Linked DNA regions of Homo sapiens: regions 2, 3, 4, 5, 6 and 7 are each linked to region 1. The links are contacts of gene promoters, found by promoter capture Hi-C in blood cells and fetal thymus (Javierre and others, 2016). All regions are on one chromosome and are shown on one strand. The core of a region is centred on a gene start or on the middle of the fragment in contact, and the rest is flanking DNA. Distances in the headings are between cores, read along the strand shown.

Region 1 (2,680 bases), core at 80-2,579:
TCAGTAGGGAGTTGTCTGAAATCTTAATTGTGAACCTTTTTTTCACAAGATGCACAGTCTTCTAGAGATTTTGCTAGTGGAACGGGTGTGTGAGCTGATCATTATATGGAATTGAGACACATCAAATGCCATTAAAATTTACATTTACAACTCGAGTAACTAAATGCATTGATTCTTTTCATATTAAAAGACACTTGGTATTCACTGAATAATGAAAAATGCCACGGAAAAAATTATGTATTAACAATACAACCTGCCTAAAGGGTCAGAATTCTGCTACACACCTTTTGCTTACCTTTAAATAAATATTTAGGTGTGTTAAGAGCAGGGCAATTCTTGAACGGCACGATGTTGTTTGGTTTAATGTCTTTATAAAAATATTTGAAAAGGTATGGAAAATGAGGTGAGAGTGTTGTGGATTTAAAAACATGTGTATACATAGATACACAATTATTAAAACTTTAGACAAGGACGTTTTCTTCCTGGGAGTGGAGAGCCACCAGCGCGGGAAGTCTGCTGCAGGGATGAACAAAAGCATGGCTGCACGATAGTATTATCTTTGCAGCAGCAGCAGGCGCCCTGACGGAGGGTTGCGGCGACTGTCTAGTCTATCACACCGCACTTCTGGTAGTGACAACCTCCGTTATTCTGTCAGCTCAGCCGACTAAGTGGTTCCCCGCGTTCTGCCTGGTCACCTTGTCTCCGTTAAACGGGAAGCAGAAAAGAGAAAGGTGAATTGAGGGGGTACAAGGAGATTCCTCCGCCTTGGGACCGGCGTCGCCCCATCCTCTGGAAGTGTTGAGCGGGGAGAATTCGAGGACCGTATTTAACCCAGAAAACAGTAAGCCCTCTGAATTAGCTGCTACGCCTGGGGAAGGCAGAAAAGTCTTAATCGTCCCTTCCCAGCAGGGACCAAGAAAGACCAGTTAGAGCGAGCCTGGCCGGACCACGCGAGCCCCGGACCTCTCCGATCCTTCAGAGCCCGCGCCGGGCAAAGTAGAGGTCAAGTCAACACACACGACCGCAGGGCAGCCCTCCCACTCTCCCGTGCGGTCCGCAGCTCGGCTTCGGAACGACCACCGCTAACACTGCAAGGCTGTAAGGCTGGGAGGGGGCGGGTCCTGAAGGGGGCGGGAATAAGAGGCGGGGCAGAAGGGCGGAGGAGTGTGTCGGGAGATGTAGTTCCGCGAGTCCCGACAGCAAAGCTGTCCCGGCTCCGCTAATAGATTGGGACCACTACTCCCAGGAGTCTGCGCGCCCGACCGGAGCGTCCATGCGCAGTGGGAGCCACTTTGTATCCTATCAGGCGAGGAGAGGGTGATGTCACCTGCGAGTTAGTAACCTACGAGCGGCTGTGAAGGAAACTGTTTAACCGGATCCCATTGTACCCAGAGTGCAGAGCCGCCTTTCCAGCATGCAGGGGCTGCTCAGGTAAGGGGGACGCTCCTCCTTGCCCGCCGCACTCATTCATTAAGTGGCACTGCTCAGTGGTGCGGGGGTGGGCGTGCTTCCGTGGGCTGGGCGCTGGGTTCGCGGCGCGCCCTCCTGCTGCCTCCCCGGAGCTCCCGGGCCAGTAGGTAAATATTAAACCCGTCCTTCAGGTTGGGTCTGGGTGGGAACGGGACCGAGACAGCTCTCGGCTGCCTAGCTGGGGGTGGGAAAATGGCTGCAGCGCAACGCAAACCGAGGCAGCAGGGAGGAAGACGCCCCCAAGGACTGGGGTCCCTCCCTTTCTTTCTAAGGCGCCCGGCTGGCCGAGGAGCTGGCGGGGTAACACTCGCCGCCTTGCTGAAGGCTCCCCGGGGCTGGGGCCGCGGGTACTGCAGCGGCGTCCGCGAGCTCCCGGCCCGGCGGCTCCGAGAGGGAGAACCCCGAGGCAGGCTTGGTGGACACGGCGGTGGCGACAGGGAAGGAGGGACTCGTGTACCCGTTCGCGTCCGAGCAGAGCCCCCAGTGCCCCTGGCACCCTCACTTCCAGCCCCATTCGAAAGGGACGGAGCGCCTGTAATTCAGACTAAGTTGGACCTAAATGTTTCAAAACAGAGAGAAGGGAAATCGGGCGTTGCGGAGGGAGAGCAGGGTGTTGGCGGCCGGGGAGGCTGCGCCGCCTGCGGACCCGGTTGTGAGGCACCGCAGAGGGCTTTTGCCGCCCGTCCCTCTCGGGAGGGCGCATCTCAGTCTCCACGGTCCCTTGGTGTAGAGCACCTGGGCTGGGGCGAAGCGCCTGCCCTGAAGCCCTGGGCCAGGAGGTGGTAGCGCGGGGGTGGAGGTGTCGGATAATCTAATGATTAGGCTCGCTGTGGGGCAGGAGGGCTGGATAATCGGGTTTACCCAGCTGGTTCTGAAAGCCAACTGCTTGTGATCGGCTTGCCCTCTGAGTGGAGACGTGCAGGAGGCCCAGAGCTCTCAGTCCTCTGGATGTTCTTTGCCTTTCCTAGTACCTTCATTTGTTCGTTTACTCATTCATCAAACCCTGCTAAGGTCTCAAGTTGTTCACGGCCTGGCTTTGCGGAGCTACCTCTCGCCCCATAACATATTTAGTGATGCCTGAACTCCATTCCCCTCTCCTTCATCTCCACTTTCTGGAGAGCATCAAGAGCAAATGCCACCGTGACCGTTTTGCTGGTAGTTTCTTGAGATTCGAGCAGGACCCAGTGAATCGAAGCGGAGTTGCCTGCAA
Region 2 (2,680 bases), core at 61-2,560, 1.0 Mb after region 1:
CATCAGTGCGGGTTGCTCCCTGCACAGGGTGCCAGCCAAGGAGCAGGTGGGGATTGAAATCCAGTCCACATTTCACTAGCCAAGCTATACTCACTGGTTTGAATCCATGTTACATAAAGATACCATCCGTCCATCAAGCCTTGTGGACAGAGGGCTGTGTCCACCCAGAGGGAGCACTTTTGTGTCATCTGTACAAAAGCTCCATGTGAACTCATGGGGTTCTTTTCCCCAAATCTCACCAATCAAATGAATCTTTTCTACTCCCTTGTAGAGGAACATCATAGATGGAAGTAAGGCCAGAACTTCCCTTCCGAATACTTGCAAAAGAACCTAAGTTTTATTTTTATGAGCTAGGAAAGGAAGGGAAGAGTTCTACCTAAGACAGATAAGCAGGGAGAAGAGAATTGGCGTTAATTGAACACATACTGTATGCCGGGCATTGGAGAGCATGTGATATGGATAAGCCATTTCATATTATTTGACCAAGTGTGTTAAGATTGATACTTCAGATGAGCGTCTTGAAGATTACATTAAAGAAGACCACACATCCAAAAGTGATGACACTTGAATCCAAAGTCCATCATCTACTACCACTCTGTGGTACTTTGTACTCTTTCAACAAAAAGTCCTACTGGCAGTGACTATTCTTTAAGATTTCCAGGAGCTGAGGAGCATGGCGCTGAACAATACAGACACAACTGTTATCCCATGATCTGCAATGAGAAACACAAGCCAGGCAGGATCAAGTTTTTAGACAGGTGTGTTCCAAAAGTTCACTTCAAGACTAATGCTTAGCAAATATTTTTTCTAAGTTATAAATAAAGATTACTTTCCTGAGTTAGCTCAAAAAATTGTTTTTAGTGTGGTTTGGACCCTTAACCCCTGAGATAGAGCTTCCCTGATTCTCTCTGATCATCGAGTCCCACTGGGTACCTTTGTGAGCCAGTAAACTCCCAGGTGGACTGGCTGTGTAAATGAGGGGGCTTGTAAAGCAAGCAACATAAAACGAAGGGTCTATGTAAAAAGTCCTACAAATAGGGCTTTGAAAATCTCTATTGCAGGGTTTCTCAAACTCAGCACTGTTAACATTTTGGGCCAGATAATTCTTGGTTGTGGGCGCTGTCTAGTACATTATAAGACATTTAGCAGCATCCTTGGACTTAACCCACTAGATGTCAGTAACAACCTCCCACCATCACAAGTTATGATAATCAAAAATGTCTCCAGACATTGCCAAATGTCCTGTGTGGGACCAAAATAGCTCTCCATTGAGACTTCGGAGTGCAATGGCTTCTGAACAATGGCCTATAACCATTTAGGTATTCCATAACTCTCAAAGGCCTAAAACCCAGGTTCTGTGAATAAATTCACTAATGTGTAAAAAAGCATAACATCTTAAAAAGTAAAACACAATTTTTGATGGTTGTGAAGGGCTATTTAAAAATTTTTAAAGATTTAATACCTCTAAATACCTAGATTTTTTAATACCTAGAAATATTTAATACTTTTTCTCATATAAAAGATGATTGAAGATTGTTTTTCAATCTCAAATAAAATATACTGTTCCCCAGACAGTGTAAGATATTTTAGAATAAGAATTAATTAAGAATTATGATACTCTTATTTTCAGGTGGTAATTTAGTATCAACAACAGGCCTTTTCTTTGGCTATAAACAGAAAAATGTGGGTGTGGACATAATGAAGCAATTGTACAGTTTGAAATAGTGAATAACTCACATCCCTCATAGAGAAAGGGTCATGCTACCTTCACAACGCAGGCCAAGAAAATTCCCATGATCTAAGCCACATAGAAGAGTTTCAGATTCCACAAAATACTTTGAGCCCCCTCCTTTATTCTCCCATCCCATTATTCTCTGTTTTTGAATGATCAAAAAGTGAAGTTTCCTTCACTTTTGGGCTAATGCCCAAATGCCCTTTGGGAAAGTTCAACTTCTCTTTTATTTGAAAATTAAAATTCTTATCTGATGAACTTCAAAATCTCCATCCAAAGATGAATACAGAGGTTATGAGTTGCTCTAGCTCTCTAAGTGCTACATAAAACAGACGAAGAATAGAATTCCAGGACTCGGCCTTCCCAGTCCGCTATAGACATTATTATAATTCTCCAACTGAAAGCCAAATTCTGGCTATAAATTCTGGCTATGTTACCATTAAGCTGACTTCTCATCCACATTTTCTAATACCAACACTTTCAAAAAGAATTGAAAACATATATGGTTAGTATATAAGCAGAGTATAGCGGCTGAGAGCTGGGATGCTGGCACCCAATGACTTCGATGCAGAATCTTGGCTCTGCCACTTACTAGCTTGTGACCTTGAGACCCTCCACCTCAACCTCTTTGTGCCTGTTTCCTCAACTACCCAGTGGAGATAATAAAAGTGTTCATACCTTAAGGTAGTTATAAGGAATTAATGAGTCAATATTTATAAAGCGCATAGATTGGTATCTAACACACAGTAAGTGCTAAAAAGGTATCTGTTAAACAAAATTATACAATAAATAGAGCAACACAAGGCCTTTGTCCCATTATTACAATCATGAAATGCTCTAGGGGAAAAATGAGAAAACAGGCTTTTTGTTTTTGCTACTGTCACTTCCTTCTTCCAGTCCCTTCTTCCTTTTTCTGTGTCTATTTCATGTCTTCTTTCCAGGTTCCTA
Region 3 (2,680 bases), core at 116-2,615, 990 kb before region 1:
TTGTTATGGAAATAGCTTATCCCCAACTACCCCGCTAACTCTAGTTACCAACCATTAGAGTAGGGCCTTTTTTTTTTTTTTTTTTTTTTTTGAGAGACAGGCTCTCACTCTTGTTGTTGCCCAGGCTGGAGTGCAGCGGCACAATCCCGACTCACTGCCGCTTTAGACTTCTTGGGCTCAAGGGATCCTCCCGCTTCGGCCTCCCAAAGTGCTGGGATTACAGGTGTGATCCTGCGCTCGGACAGTTGGGACATCTTAATACAGTATAACCTCATCTTAACTTGATTACATCTGCCAAGACTCTATTTCCAAATAGGGTCACATTCTGAGGTTCCCAGTGGACAAGAATTTTGGGGGGGGGGGCATCATTCAACCCAGTACACCAGCTAAATGTTGCTAGTCCTCACCGATTTACCCTTGAACCTCTTTTCTTATTGCACAGCCTCTCCTTTGACAGTCTTTTCCACTCCTATGCATAGATACAGTTAGAGCTAATATTTGCAGGAAAAAAATATTTTCACAGAAAGCTGTGAAGTGACAAAGATGTAAACAGTAATGTAAATGTTAAAAGTAGTGGCAAAAACAGCAATTACTTTTGCACCAACCTAATAGGGGCCTTTGCTTCAATGTTTCTTCTATTAAACCATCCCGACCGCTCCTCTATGGACAGATTCAAGATTCACAGACGCTACTCTAGCTGCTTAATTCTGGAGTAAAATAAAAACTTTCAGAAAGACTACTAACTAAAGTATTGTCTGTACGTATTATTCTCTAAAGCATCATTAGCATAGGCTTTGCAATTAGGAAGTCTGTGGGTTTGTTCCTGGCTCTGCCGTGGGACATTGGGAAAGTTAATCTCTCTGAGCGTCGGTCCCCACAGATAAGAAAACACATATTCTTGTTATTTCTTGAGAAGATTAAATATTAGGCAAAACGCCTAGCACAGAATAGGGTCTCAGCATCTTCTGCCCCCCAAGAGCATGAATCAAAGGTTCGGAATTGCGTCGTCTCTCGGCTGCCCCTTGGCAGCCAGGTCCTCAGTGACCTCTTCACAGTGAGCTGAGACCGAACCTCTTCACAGCCGCGCGTGGGTGCGGCTTTGGGGCGTGGTGGGAGGGAAGGATAGGGAGGCCGGCTCCGCCCCCTCAGGGCGACCGGCGCGCCTGATCGCCGCGGCCTCCGCGCCCCCGCACTCGGATTCGCGCCCGCCAGCGCCTCTTTTCCCCTAGTCCTGGCGACGGCAGCACCTGCAAGGGTGGGTCCAACGCGGAATGAGGCACAGCCTGGGACAGCCCGGGCCCGGCGCGCCGCGGCCGCGCGAGGCCCCCGCCGTCGCCGACGCCCGAGCGCCGGAGCCCCGGCCCCGCCCCGCGAGCGCCGAGACTTGTTGGCCGCGGAGACTGCGACCCTCTTCTCTCAGTCTGCCTTACTACCATGCCGCTCTACGAGGGCCTGGGGAGCGGCGGGGAGAAGACGGCGGTCGTGATCGACCTGGGAGAGGCCTTTACCAAGTGAGTGGCCGTGACGCCAGCTGTGTTCGACCCGAGGGGAGGGCGGGTGGCAGAGCCCCAGGCACTGCCTGGGTCCTCATCGCCGACTCGCTGGGCAGCTCCGGGCCTCCCCTTTTCTTCAACCAGCGCCCTTGCAAATAACAGCTCTTATTATTTCCTCCCTGGGCGATGCGAATCCGAGGATCGGGGTCTGACTCCCAGAGAGGCCCAGAAAGCTTCTGTTGAATTGCCCTCGTCGCCGCCCCTTGTCATCACCCCAAACCCAACAAACCCTTTGGGATCATCTGTGTAGGGGATGACAACCGTGACCTAGACCCCGCTTACCCTGGGCTCCTCAGTTGAGGAAGGCAGCCAACCGAATGTAAATGCTCGATGACGAATTTCATCATAAAATATTGAACGGAGTTTATTTTGGTGCTGAAAATGGAAAGATGTTTAAGACAGGGCTATCGCTGCTCAAGAATTAGGGAGACTGGGCACATTAAGAGGTGAAACCCTATAGATAAGATTCTGGAAATCCTTTGTTGGCTCCCCTAAACTCGAAGGTTAGATTTGACATGTTTTAAACAAACCAACTTGTAAACAATAGAGAGGAGGTTCTCAACCTTTCGGATGGCATAGATCTCTTTAATGGCTGGATGAAAACCACAAATGCACAAATCTTAAGGTACTTATACACAGTTTCAGGGAATTGGCAGACAATCAATGTGGTCCTGGGACCCTAGATTAAGAGTCCTTGTGATGGGCTCAACAGAGAGGGAAGTAACAGGCAATTACATCATATATGTATTTATGAAAATGAAACATTTGAAAAATCTTTTTATATCTCTAGGCACTTCCTGACGTGTAGTAGGTATTTAATAACTATTTATTGACTAAGTGGTTAAAAGAGCCTATTTAAAAATTGGACCCCAGGAACTCCAGAATTGGATTAAACATAGTCCTTGGTTAATGACATTCTCTTATTGTTCTATGCGAGGCCCTTCCTTATTTATATTTTCTTATTAAAATTATTTTGAAAGCGTAATAAACAGTTCGAGGCTTCTAGTCAAAGATAATTATTTTGGCTGTACTTGGAAGAAATAAGCAAAAAGCTATATTTGAAAAAGACAGCAGGAGGATGATAAGATAAATGTATGAAGTAAAAAAAAGGAATTGAAGTCTAATGG
Region 4 (2,680 bases), core at 121-2,620, 940 kb before region 1:
AATGAATACAAGGTCATTTCTGTAGTATTCCTGCCATAAATGCATCACTTGAATCAAATAACAAAAAAATCAAACCTAAATTAAGGAATATTCTACAAAATAAATGGTTTGTATTCTTCAAAAGTGTTCATGCCATGAAAACTGAAGAAATACTAAGCAACTATTTTCCAGACTAAAGCAGATTGGAAACATGACAACTGAATGCAAGGTGTGATCTTGGATTTTCTTTTGCTATGAAGGACATTATTGGGCCATTTACCAAAAAAAAAAAAAAAATGCATAAAGTTGATAGATCATAGTATTGGTAATTTTCTGATTTTCACAATAATACTGTGTCTCTGTGAAATAATGTTCCTGTGTTGGGGGAAAATACACACTGACGTATTAATATTTAGGAGTAAAAAAAATGCTGATGCCCTATTTACAATCGGATTAAAATTCAAACCACTTCAAGATTTGGTCTCCTGTGCACTTGTTCTCTTCCTGTCATTCTTCCCCACTTAATCATTATGAGAGGTCACTCTGACGTGACAGTTCCCAGCGCAAGCCAAGTTTTTTACTGTTCCCTAAACCACTGTCTTTTGTTACCCTATTTTAGTTTAAATATCACTCACTCAGAAAGTCATTCCCTGAGCACACTGCCTAAAGTTAGTACCTCCATTGTCTATTAAAGCACTCTTTCTTCTTACTATTTTGCTTATTTATTGTTACCTATTTATTCCCACTGAATGGAAATTACATTAGAAATGGGGGTATGCTCTGTTCACGGCTTTTTCTTGAACACGTGGAATATACTAGCGCTCAAAAAATATCTTTAATCAGACTTATCTTTAACTCTTACCAAAAAGCGTTATACTCATAGAAAGAGCACTAATACTTCCGTAAAATTCTAAGCTGAATTCAAAGACGATACCCTTTAAGTGAAACTTCACGAGAGCCTGAGCACAAGGAGGTGAAGTGGATGCCATCAAGATTCTGGGTCAGGGTCGGGACGCGGAGGAAGACAGGTTACTTCGCGCCTACTGCTTTTTCTACTTTTTGTGAGAGTATACCAGCATCTCTCCCTTTGGCTTAAAGAAAGAATAAAGTGAGGAGAGAATAATAATATAAAAGATAAATAATAATTCCAAGGAAAGGAATAGAGCAGCTTCTCAGATACCACGACGCCAAGCGGCTCAAAGTACGCGAACCGAAGGAGGAGCCTTTGCTTTCCCCAACCCCGCCTCCATTGCTTCTGCACATGCGCGCCGCCAGCCTCTCGCGGCCCGCTTTTTTCCCACAATACTCCTCGTCCTGGGGGCCGGAGCCGCGGAACGAGCCACAGAGAAAAAGGTTATTGGTTGGCAGTTCAGCCAATGAGCGGGCCTGTTACTAGTTTGCGGCATCCTGTGGTATAGGGGAAGCGCTCCGGGCCTGGAATCCCTACGCGTCCCTTTGGGTTTAGCACGATGAGCTCAATCGGCACTGGGGTGAGTTCGCTGTCTGTCGGTGTAATAGTTTAACCTAAGGATTGGGGTTGAAGGGAACTCGGACAGACCACATGGGGTTCGCGGACCCGGGGTGCTCTGAGACCGCCTTCGGCTGGGTGGGCCATTTGCAGCTGTTTGGAGACCGGTCGTCTTTATCCCCTATATGCTAGGCCTGCGTCTCAGGTGACCGTGACTCCTGAAGCTTTTCAGCGCAGGTGTAGCCGGCTTGGCGTCGCCGCAGTGAGGTTTGGAGCCGCTTTGGATTGCTGAGTCACTTTCTTCAGCCACTTAGGGAAACCGAAAGTGGAAACTCGTGGGGCTTGAAATAGTGTGTTCTCTTGAGAACCACCGAGGCAGTGAGATTTGGGATTCCGGGGTCTGGAGATCGTGCTTTTTGTGGACTGCGTTTGCAGTTCCTAGGGTGCTGCTGATTCACAGGCCTTCTCTGTCTTTAAGTGTGCAGATCATTGACCGCTCAGTTTAAGAGTCACTGGAAATCCTGTCGGAACAGAACTAATAAAAATGGTCTGAAAAACAATCTGATGAATCCTTCAGTTTTTCCTTTCTCGTTTTTCCTATACAAATTACCTAACAGCGCTTGTAGGCATTTATTCCGTAAACGTTTAAATGGTTACTTAGGAACTTAACAGCTTCAGACTTTTCATAGACTGTTGAGGATTTTGCAGTGGGACTTGTTAACTTGTTTGGCTTTCCTTTGTTAAACGTATTGCATATGTGCAGTCAGTTTACTCCTTTTATGTACTTCTCTATATAGAAAATACAGTTTCTAAAAGATTTATTGGTTATTTGCACTAGAGTTATTGAATAATGAGTTTCTCAGTTCCTCAATTTCTACTTCTTAACAAGATTCTCATGCTCAGCCTTAAGTTCAAGTACCGGTGTTCTAAATTTGATAATAGGCAACTTATGTCTGGAATGGTTTAATCCATTCAGTTATGAATGCTAAAGTTCTGCCATACTTTTCTTGGATAAGTAAATGCTCAATATTAAATCTTGTAGCAAACTGACTTTGCAATTATATTAATATTACCTTGAATTAATAGTATTTCATTCTACAAACCTTTTAAAGAATACTTGATAATGTAACCATGTGGGATATTTTAGTAACAATGGTAGGGTTAATGATCTGGGTTTAACAGATCAGGAAACAGACTCAGAAAGTACCACTGCTGAAGGCTTTTCTTCTGTCT
Region 5 (2,680 bases), core at 60-2,559, 900 kb after region 1:
ATTTGAAACTATTCTTTTATCATACACTCCCCATCAGTAATTACTGTAAATTTTTCAGAACTGCAATTTAAAAGAAATATATTGTATCTTAGAGTAAAGCTTGAGACCAACCAATCGCAAAGCTATGATTACATTATATATTGTTTATTTGATGGTTCTATTTATGATTGTTTATGGGATATGAAAGTTTCTATATTAAAGAAAGTTTCAATATGAAACACTGTAATTAACTATTGGGCACGTCCTGTCTTTAATATTCTCATAACTCATAACTTGCCCAACCCAAATCTCACGAACATGCTCAGACACTCTAAAATTTCTACTCATCACATGTCCTTTCACATGATGTTTGATGCATATCATGATCTATGATACAGTGACTTTCAATAAGCCATATAAGTCAATCTTTTTATTTTATAGTCCTTTTCTTCTTCGGTTTTCTTCTTGTCCCATTAAGATATAAACCTTGACATTCTTTTCCAATCTTATTACTTCAACAATCTTTTAAAAAAAATTATTGAATATTCTACATCTTAACTTCTCTCCCAAGGTCAATATGTAATATAGGTCCAATTCTGTATTTCCAACTGGGCATAGGCACCTGAATATCGCATCAGCCCCTTACACACAGGTCTCAAAGTAGATTCATTATCTTTCTTCCCAAAGCTATTATTCCTCCTGTGTTTCTTTAAAGGCACCCGGAACTGTGAGCATGATTTTGCCTTCTCTTTGGCCCATACCTAGTGCTGCAGCTCTGCATTATTTTCAGAGACTTCTGGCCAGTGGTCTCTGGGAACAAGGCAGAGTGAGGGTTTATGGTGTGGGTTTTGCTTTTGTTTTACTTTTTAGCAAGAGAAGTTAACTTGGGTATGAACTGAAAACGGGCATTACCATTACACAATAACACGTATGTCATGATAATGCCTGGCTAAACATCTTCTCTGGCTGAAGCAGCAGTTCCAGATTTTTCACAATTTGTTTCATTTTATGTGAATCAGCAGGGTAGGAAAAAATACACGAATCTTGAAGACATACAGATACGGACTCAACTCCAGATGTCATCACTTATTTTACTTTTCTCAAGCTCAGATTCCTTACATTTGAAATAATAATAAGCTACCTCATAAGGTTAAGATTAAATGAGGTACACAAAGTACTGATTCTATGTATGCTCTAAGTATGTGTTGAATGAATTAAAGAATAAATGTTCCCCTACCTGGAATACCTCTTCTCCCAGCTAACTCTGTTTTTGTTTTTGTTTTGTTTTTTTTTTTTTGAGACAAGATCTCACTCTGTTGTCCAGGCTGGAGTGCAGTGGTGCAATTTCGGCTCACTGCAACAACCTCTTACCTCAGCCTCTGAGTAGCTGGGACCACAGGCGCACACAACCACACCTGGCTAATTTTTTGTATCTTTTGTAGAGACAGGGTTTCACCATGTTGCCTCAAACTCCTAGGCTCAAGCGATCCTCCTACCTCAGCCTCCCAAAGTGCTAGGATTGCAGGCAAGAGCCACCACGCCTGGCCCAGCTGTCCACTCACCCTTTAAAAATGGATTGCAACCATCCTTAATTTCCCCAGAATTATGTGTCCCACTTTGTTTCTGAAGCTCAGCGCATACCTGTTTATCACATACACTGTAATTACTGATGTCCTTGTTGTTCAAGTTATGTCCTTGATGTCCAAGTTATATTTTGGTAAATTCCTTAAGGATCATGTTTTATTTGACTTTATATCTGCAGCAATTAGTGTAGTTCCTGACAAATAGGAACCACTATTCCCTTCACTATTTCAATAAATGTTGAATGAATATTTTATACACAGCTAACCAAAGGGCTTGTACCATATGCCCTACTAATTTTATTCTAAGAAAGCACGATGTTCAAATATATTTGAAAAACAGCAGATATTTCAACAATAAACATGTTAATTCTGCTTGGGTCATATGTAATGCCCATGAGAAGAACAAGCATAAATACAGACTCTCTACATAAAGATAATAGCTCATCCTTACTAAGCACTTAAGCTGTGCCATTTACTCTGCTAAGCAATTTACAATTATTTGATTTAATCCAATGACATAACTCTCTGCGGGTTAAGTTCTATTATTTGCCTTATTTTACAAGATATGGGGAAACTGAGCACTAGAGAAATTACATAACCTCAAGATCTCACAAGTAGTAAGCAGTAGTGCCAGGGTTTCAACCCAGACTTCCTGACTCTGGAGCCTCCACTCTTAATTACATGAAACTCAGACTTCTTGGCGGTAAGTGATGCTTCCGAGATGCTTAATGTGGTACTCTGACCCGCAATGAGTGAGCTTCAATGAGAAAAACTATGGATGGACCAACAGCACGTTTTCCCATATTCTATCAAATCGTGAAGATACCAAACTATGAAAGGGTCTACCTGCAAATTAAGTCCTTGAAGACAAGTATATGTATATCCGGGGTTTTCTTCCACATGCTTTCAACACACTACACTTTTGCTCTGGACACAATATCTTAAAAATAAATAAATAAAGCTTTGGCTTTTAATATGAACACAGTAATTATTTTTCTATTACGACCTGAAAACCTAAATACTTAAATACAAAGTCAGCATTTCCAAGACAGCCAAGAGCCAAGAATTAAAAAAAAAAAAAAATTAAGGCCGCATTTATAGTTTTGAGGAATGGAGAT
Region 6 (2,680 bases), core at 91-2,590, 720 kb before region 1:
TTTTTTTTTTTTCAGTCAGAGTCTTGCTCTGTCGCCCAGGCTGGAGTGCAGTGGTGTGATCTCAGCTCACTGCAACCTCCGCCTCCCGGGTTCAACCAATTCTCCTGCCTCAGCCTCCTGAGTAGCTGGGATTACAGGTGCCTGCCACCACGCCCGGCTAATTTTTGTATTTTTAGTAGAGATGGGGTTTCACCATGCTGGCCAGGCTGATCTTGAACTCCTGACTCCAAGTGATCCCTCTACCTCGGCCTCCCAAGTTCGGGAATTACAGGCGTGAGCCACCACGCCAGCCCAAAACAAATTTTGAATTGTTTATGAACTTGAAAGTTTGTTTCAGATCCTTACATTTATAACTATTTGGAAAGTGATAATCTTTAGTGTAACTTTTTGGTAATTTAAGTTGTGAAACTCTCATGTGAAGAAAGAATTTCTGTCACTTTGGTGATGAATCTTTGATTTACATGGGAATTATAGATATCCTAAATGAATTTTATAGTGACAGTTGGGAGTTTATATTTTGGAATGTTACCTTGTTATCCCACTGTTGACATGATACAAAAATATGCATTTCTTCCTGGCATTTATTTGCTTTTGAATAATGAAGTTATGGCTTTACTACACAGCAAAATAGCACTGTAACTTACCCCAGGTTTTGTTTATTGTAAGCAAACTTGGCCAAGGGTACAGTTTTAAAAGGAGAGAGAATACCAGCAATCTTTCATGATCATAAGTAATGAAATAGAACTGTCCGTAAGTGACATTTGTGCTTAATTGAATTTTTTCATCAGTATTTTTTTTTAACCTTCTGTTTATTGAAACTTCTGTGATAACAAGCAATAAATTTTTGGACTGTTTATCATTCTGCTGTCAGTAAGAGGCTATTGCATGACTACATTTTATATAATGAGGCCTAATGATTAGATTTGTAAAATGACTATTTTGTTTTTTTTCCTGAATTATTTGATTCTGTATCCATCTTCATGTGAGTTCATATATGTTTATACTTAGAGATCTACACATGTAAACACTTTCCTTTATCTTAATTCTGGAAGAGAAGTCTCAATTATATCAACCTGTTGATCAATTAAGTGATATTGCTGATGGAGTCCTTTACAGAAAAACAGCTGATTAATTTTTTAAAGCTATTGAAATGTTGACCTAATGGCTTGGGGACTAGCTTGGATTTCATTTACTAATTAAATCAATTCTGAATAGGGTATTAAAATGATTAAAAAGGACCATGTAATTATAAGCTTATACTATAGGTGGAAATATGATAAATTACTTATAAATTTTAAAAGTGTTAAGCACAACAAAAACTTTCTGAAAATGCTTTCTTAGACTCCAGAAATTATGAAGGTAGATGAAGAAGAGGTGAAGTTTCCAGGAACTAACTTTGATGAAATAATCGATGTCATACAGGTAACAAAGCTTAGAAACCATGAGAAATTATTTTTCTACCGGTATTTTTCCAGGTTGTTGACTATCTTTGGACTATCAATATTATGTTACAGTGCTTTGAGATACTTTCTTTTACTTTTGAGTTAAATATACTTTTAAAAATTATAAAGTTGTTATTCTAGAATGTCTTTAATCTATATCACCTATCTGCCTTCATGAAGCTTCATGATTATCTGCCGTTCCCCACCTAGATTTTGTCTATCTGTTTCCTGCTTTCTTCTTTCTTTCCACTTCCTTTGGCTTCTTTTCCTCCAATTTGTCTTTTTTTCTTTCTGTTAATTTTGGTTTTTGGATTCATGGTGAGGTGACTAGTTAATTGATATTGAGAAAAAAGTTGTGAGAAATCTATAATCCAAAGGAATATCCCATATGGAAGGAAGAGTTATAGAAATGATAGAAATAATGAAATAGAGGGAAAAATAGGTGGAAGTAAATTATAAAGGATGGGACAAAAGATCATAGAACATTGAAACTACTTGACCATTATGTCATTAGACTTTAAAGAACACATTTGATCAAGTTTCTTTGACTTTTAGAGCTAAGATCAGTTTTGTTAATCATAAAATGAAATCCAATTTTAGAATATACAGAGGTGTGCAGTATATTAATGTTATTCGCTCACAGATATGTCTTTTCTCATGTGAGTGCCACATGAGAATTTTGAAGACAGGGACCTTATTTATTTTTATATTCCTAATGCCTAGCAAAGGTACTTGGTAATTGTTTATGCAATATACAAGCGAAAGAAATGGTTATAGAAGTAGCAGAGAATTTAGCATTCAAAGACAAGTGTTCCTGTATTAGCTCTGCCATTTATAAGCTGTGGACTTCATTTTTCAATGGAATAATATTACTGAGTTGTACTATTTAGAGAGACCCAAAGTGTTTTTGATTGAATTATTTATAGATAAAATGATGTGATATCTGTGATTTGCTTCAAAATGATATGTGAAGGGGAAAGTGGCTAGATGAGACAAGATTGACCATAAGTTGATAATTGTTAAAGCTGGGGAGCGGATAAATGCAATTCATGTTATTTATGTAACAGATACAGTACAAGGACACTATTTGTTTACTTTTAAACACATATGATTTTTTTGTAATAAAAACTTTAACAATTCCAGAAATAACTCTATTGGTTATGATGTGGTAATGCAAATAATTTGTAAGATGACTGACCTTATTGCATATTTAAATGTAAATTATAAGTTGTATAAGA
Region 7 (2,680 bases), core at 88-2,587, 620 kb before region 1:
CATATAATATAACAATAGCACAAACAAGGAATTTTTCTATAATTTCACCAGCCTGACACACACAGTTTTATTGTCCTATAATCCTCCCCAAGATTTATGCTGTGCATGGTTTTATATAATTACATTATTACATAGGTATAATATTTAGATTGATTTTATTAGATAAGCAATGCATGAATATATATGTCCTGTAAAAATTCAAAACAATAGAAGTCTATAGAGCTAAAAGTGAAAGTCTTCATTACCTCATCCAAATCAGTTTTAGTTTTGTTATCATTTTGTTTTTTTCAAAAGTGAAATCAACTGTAAGTGTTGTCTGTGACTTCCTTTTATTCTCTTAACATGTCTTAGAACTTTCCTTGTCAGTACCTGGACCAAATGTTATAGTGTGCTTTTTTTCATTTAATTTTTTTTTCTTTGAGACAGAGTCTGGCTCTGTTGCCCAGGCTGGAGTGCAGTGGCGCGATCTCCGCTCACTGCAAGCTCCGCCTCCCGGCTTCACGCCATTCTCCTGCCTCAGCCTTACGAGTAGCTGGGACTACAGGCGCCCGCCGCCACACCCAGCTAATTTTTTGTATTTTTAGTAGAGATGGGGTTTCACCATGTTAGCCAGGATGGTCTCGATCTCCTGACCTCGTGATCCGCCTGCCTAGGCCTCCCAAAGTGCTGGGATTACAGATGTGAGCCACTGCACCCGGCCTTCATTTAATATTTTTATAAGTATTTCTTCATGTTGCCAAATATTTTTATAATTTTTTTGAATGATGGGCGTGAGTGGGATTGAGACTTGGTGGCTTATTTATCGGATATAAAATAAGCTATCTCCAAATGGCATGATCCCAAATGAGCAGTGCTTATTTGGTACTGAGTTTATTGGAGAATCATAGAATGGTTCACCAAAAAGGGTTTCAGCCTATTCCCATTTTACAGATGAGGCAACCGAAGCTCCTAAATGGAGCACAGGAAGCAGAATGTCTTGCAGATCTGAGGTTGAGGACCACATGTAAGAAGGAGCTTGGGTACCCGATGACTTCCTTGAGGAGTGTGCCAGCCCTGGGTTGCCCAAACCTGGACTTCTTATTACATGACAAAAAAACCCAGCTTTTGGTTTGGTCACTGTAGTGGGGTTTCTATTACATGTAGCCACATACACTCCCTACTGACACAGCTATGTTCATTCATTCATTTATTCACTCACCAAACAGTTATTTAGTTTTAGTCATGTGCCTGCAATGTACAGGCTATGTTCATAACACTAATAGCTAGCATTTATGGAATACTTAGTACATACAATGCTTATGCCGAGAACTTTACATGTCTGTTCATTTTGTATTCACCACAACCCTCCAAAGTAGATATTATTATCCTAATTTTACAAATGAAGAAACTGAAACTCAGATGAAATAACCTACTCAACAGCACCCAAGTAATAAGCTCCAAAGCCTCTCTGACACTTAACTGCAAGAAATTTCACTTTATTTATCCTTTGGGACATAGGAACCCATACAATTTTTTCTTTGGGTTTTTTTTTTTTTTTAGAAAGATCAAATTCCATCTTTATAATCACACTGTGAATTAGATGTAGTTATTCCCATTTTCTTTTTCTTTCTTTCTTTTCTTTTTTAGACAGGATCTCGCTCTGTTGCTTAGGCTAGAGTGCAGTGGTGTAATCATAGCTCACTGCAGCCTCGACCCCCACCTTGGACTCATGCAATCCTCCCGCCTCACTCTCCCAAGTAGCTGGGACCACAGGTATGTGCCACCATACCTAGATAATGTTTTAAACTTTTCTGTAGAGACAGGGGTCTCCCTATGTTGCCCAGGCTGGTTGGAACTCCTGGCCTCAGGCGATCCTTCCACCTCAGCCTCCCAAAGTGCTAGGAATTACAAGCGTGAGCCACTACAACTGGCCACTGGGCCAATTTTAAATGTCTCTGGCAGGGCTCTCTCCCACATTGCCCACTTCTCGTCCAAGAGAAAACGCTCACTTATCCTTGCACCTTTCCCTCCCCCTTGGTGGGATGTGTGGCACTTCCCATCTTTAAATGAGATTAAGAGAGATCAACTGACTTTAATACAATTAATTCAATGTGACAAGCATGTATTGGGCACTGTGTTCTGGATACTTAGGTGCTGAGGCTACAAAGCCAAATGAGGCAAGGCCTGGCTATAGTGTATGCTGCAGGGAAGGCAAGGCTTTTCTGGAATTACAGAGGTGGCAGAAGTTGTGTTTTCTCCGGCTGGCATCAATTCCTGACTTTCTGTCAGCAGAATATTCCAGACAGGCTGGTTTCTATAAAATTCCTAGGGAGAATCCCAGGGTTTAGGTTCTGGGGGAAGGGAAGAGAGGAAATTGGCAAAAGATACTGCTTGAAAAGGCTGTTTTTCCGTCTTTCCAAATCAGGTACAAAATAATGAACTGACACAGAACGCTTTCTATTTGTTAACTGTTCAGTTTTCCCTAGCACAGGGAGGAGAGTGAGAGAACGGCAACCTTTGCCACATGATTGGAGGCAGATTTGTTTACCAGATCAAAGCCTGTGGGTAATGGAAACCTCGGGGTAGAGGGGGTGGTGCCATGCAGCGGGGCCTACAGAGCCTACTTAGCTGAATGTCTTACTCTGTATATTCTGGAGCTTGAACTGCACTACTTTGAAACGCCAGCTCTCTTTAGATTAGT

Evidence for each region. Contacts are between HindIII fragments. The CHiCAGO score rates a contact against its expected background, and 5 or more counts as called.
Region 2: a fragment that was not itself captured here is called in contact with the fragment with the promoter of DAAM1 in region 1 in 2 of 17 cell types (total CD8 T cells and naive CD8 T cells); the score reaches 6.1 in total CD8 T cells.
Region 3: a contact is called between the fragment with the promoter of ACTR10 here and the fragment with the promoter of DAAM1 in region 1, in 9 of 17 cell types (naive CD4 T cells, naive CD8 T cells, non-activated CD4 T cells and 6 more). The highest score is 15.4, in naive CD4 T cells.
Region 4: a contact is called between the fragment with the promoter of PSMA3 here and the fragment with the promoter of DAAM1 in region 1, in 4 of 17 cell types (naive CD4 T cells, naive CD8 T cells, total B cells and 1 more). The highest score is 6.3, in naive CD4 T cells.
Region 5: a fragment that was not itself captured here is called in contact with the fragment with the promoter of DAAM1 in region 1 in 4 of 17 cell types (naive CD8 T cells, total CD8 T cells, fetal thymus and 1 more); the score reaches 6.8 in naive CD8 T cells.
Region 6: a fragment that was not itself captured here is called in contact with the fragment with the promoter of DAAM1 in region 1 in 2 of 17 cell types (M2 macrophages and erythroblasts); the score reaches 5.3 in M2 macrophages.
Region 7: a contact is called between a fragment that was not itself captured here and the fragment with the promoter of DAAM1 in region 1, in 1 of 17 cell types (naive CD4 T cells). The highest score is 5.6, in naive CD4 T cells.

Annotation. Positions count from the first base shown.
Region 1 is chr14:59,187,338-59,190,017 of GRCh38, forward strand. DAAM1 (dishevelled associated activator of morphogenesis 1) reads left to right here and starts at 1,330. Exons shown (of 25, transcript NM_001270520.2): 1 at 1,330-1,431. RefSeq lists enhancers at 833-1,072, 1,853-2,612, 2,323-2,482 and silencers at 1,543-1,682, 1,743-1,962. The HindIII fragment of the contact is 5,514 bases long and covers 1-2,680 here.
Region 2 is chr14:60,187,131-60,189,810 of GRCh38, forward strand. No RefSeq gene overlaps it. Among named protein-coding and RNA genes, the nearest start is that of DHRS7, 23 kb to the left of the region's middle. The HindIII fragment of the contact is 2,835 bases long and covers 1-2,680 here.
Region 3 is chr14:58,198,784-58,201,463 of GRCh38, forward strand. ACTR10 (actin related protein 10) reads left to right here and starts at 1,366. Exons shown (of 13, transcript NM_018477.3): 1 at 1,366-1,511. The coding sequence starts at 1,435. RefSeq lists enhancers at 809-938, 1,559-1,748 and a silencer at 1,009-1,398. The HindIII fragment of the contact is 4,366 bases long and covers 1-1,724 here.
Region 4 is chr14:58,243,473-58,246,152 of GRCh38, forward strand. PSMA3 (proteasome 20S subunit alpha 3) reads left to right here and starts at 1,371. Exons shown (of 11, transcript NM_002788.4): 1 at 1,371-1,469. The coding sequence starts at 1,449. RefSeq lists enhancers at 925-974, 1,015-1,214, 1,383-2,280, 1,395-1,844. The HindIII fragment of the contact is 17,362 bases long and covers 1-1,669 here.
Region 5 is chr14:60,088,464-60,091,143 of GRCh38, forward strand. The region is part of intron 1 of PCNX4-DT (PCNX4 divergent transcript); the gene reads right to left. Among named protein-coding and RNA genes, the nearest start is that of PCNX4-DT, 1.9 kb to the right of the region's middle. The HindIII fragment of the contact is 2,424 bases long and covers 98-2,521 here.
Region 6 is chr14:58,470,858-58,473,537 of GRCh38, forward strand. KIAA0586 reads left to right here. Exons shown (of 31, transcript NM_001329943.3): 18 at 1,342-1,422. Among named protein-coding and RNA genes, the nearest start is that of KIAA0586, 44 kb to the left of the region's middle. The HindIII fragment of the contact is 178 bases long and covers 1,252-1,429 here.
Region 7 is chr14:58,569,637-58,572,316 of GRCh38, forward strand. No RefSeq gene overlaps it. Among named protein-coding and RNA genes, the nearest start is that of DACT1, 67 kb to the right of the region's middle. The HindIII fragment of the contact is 3,073 bases long and covers 1-2,680 here.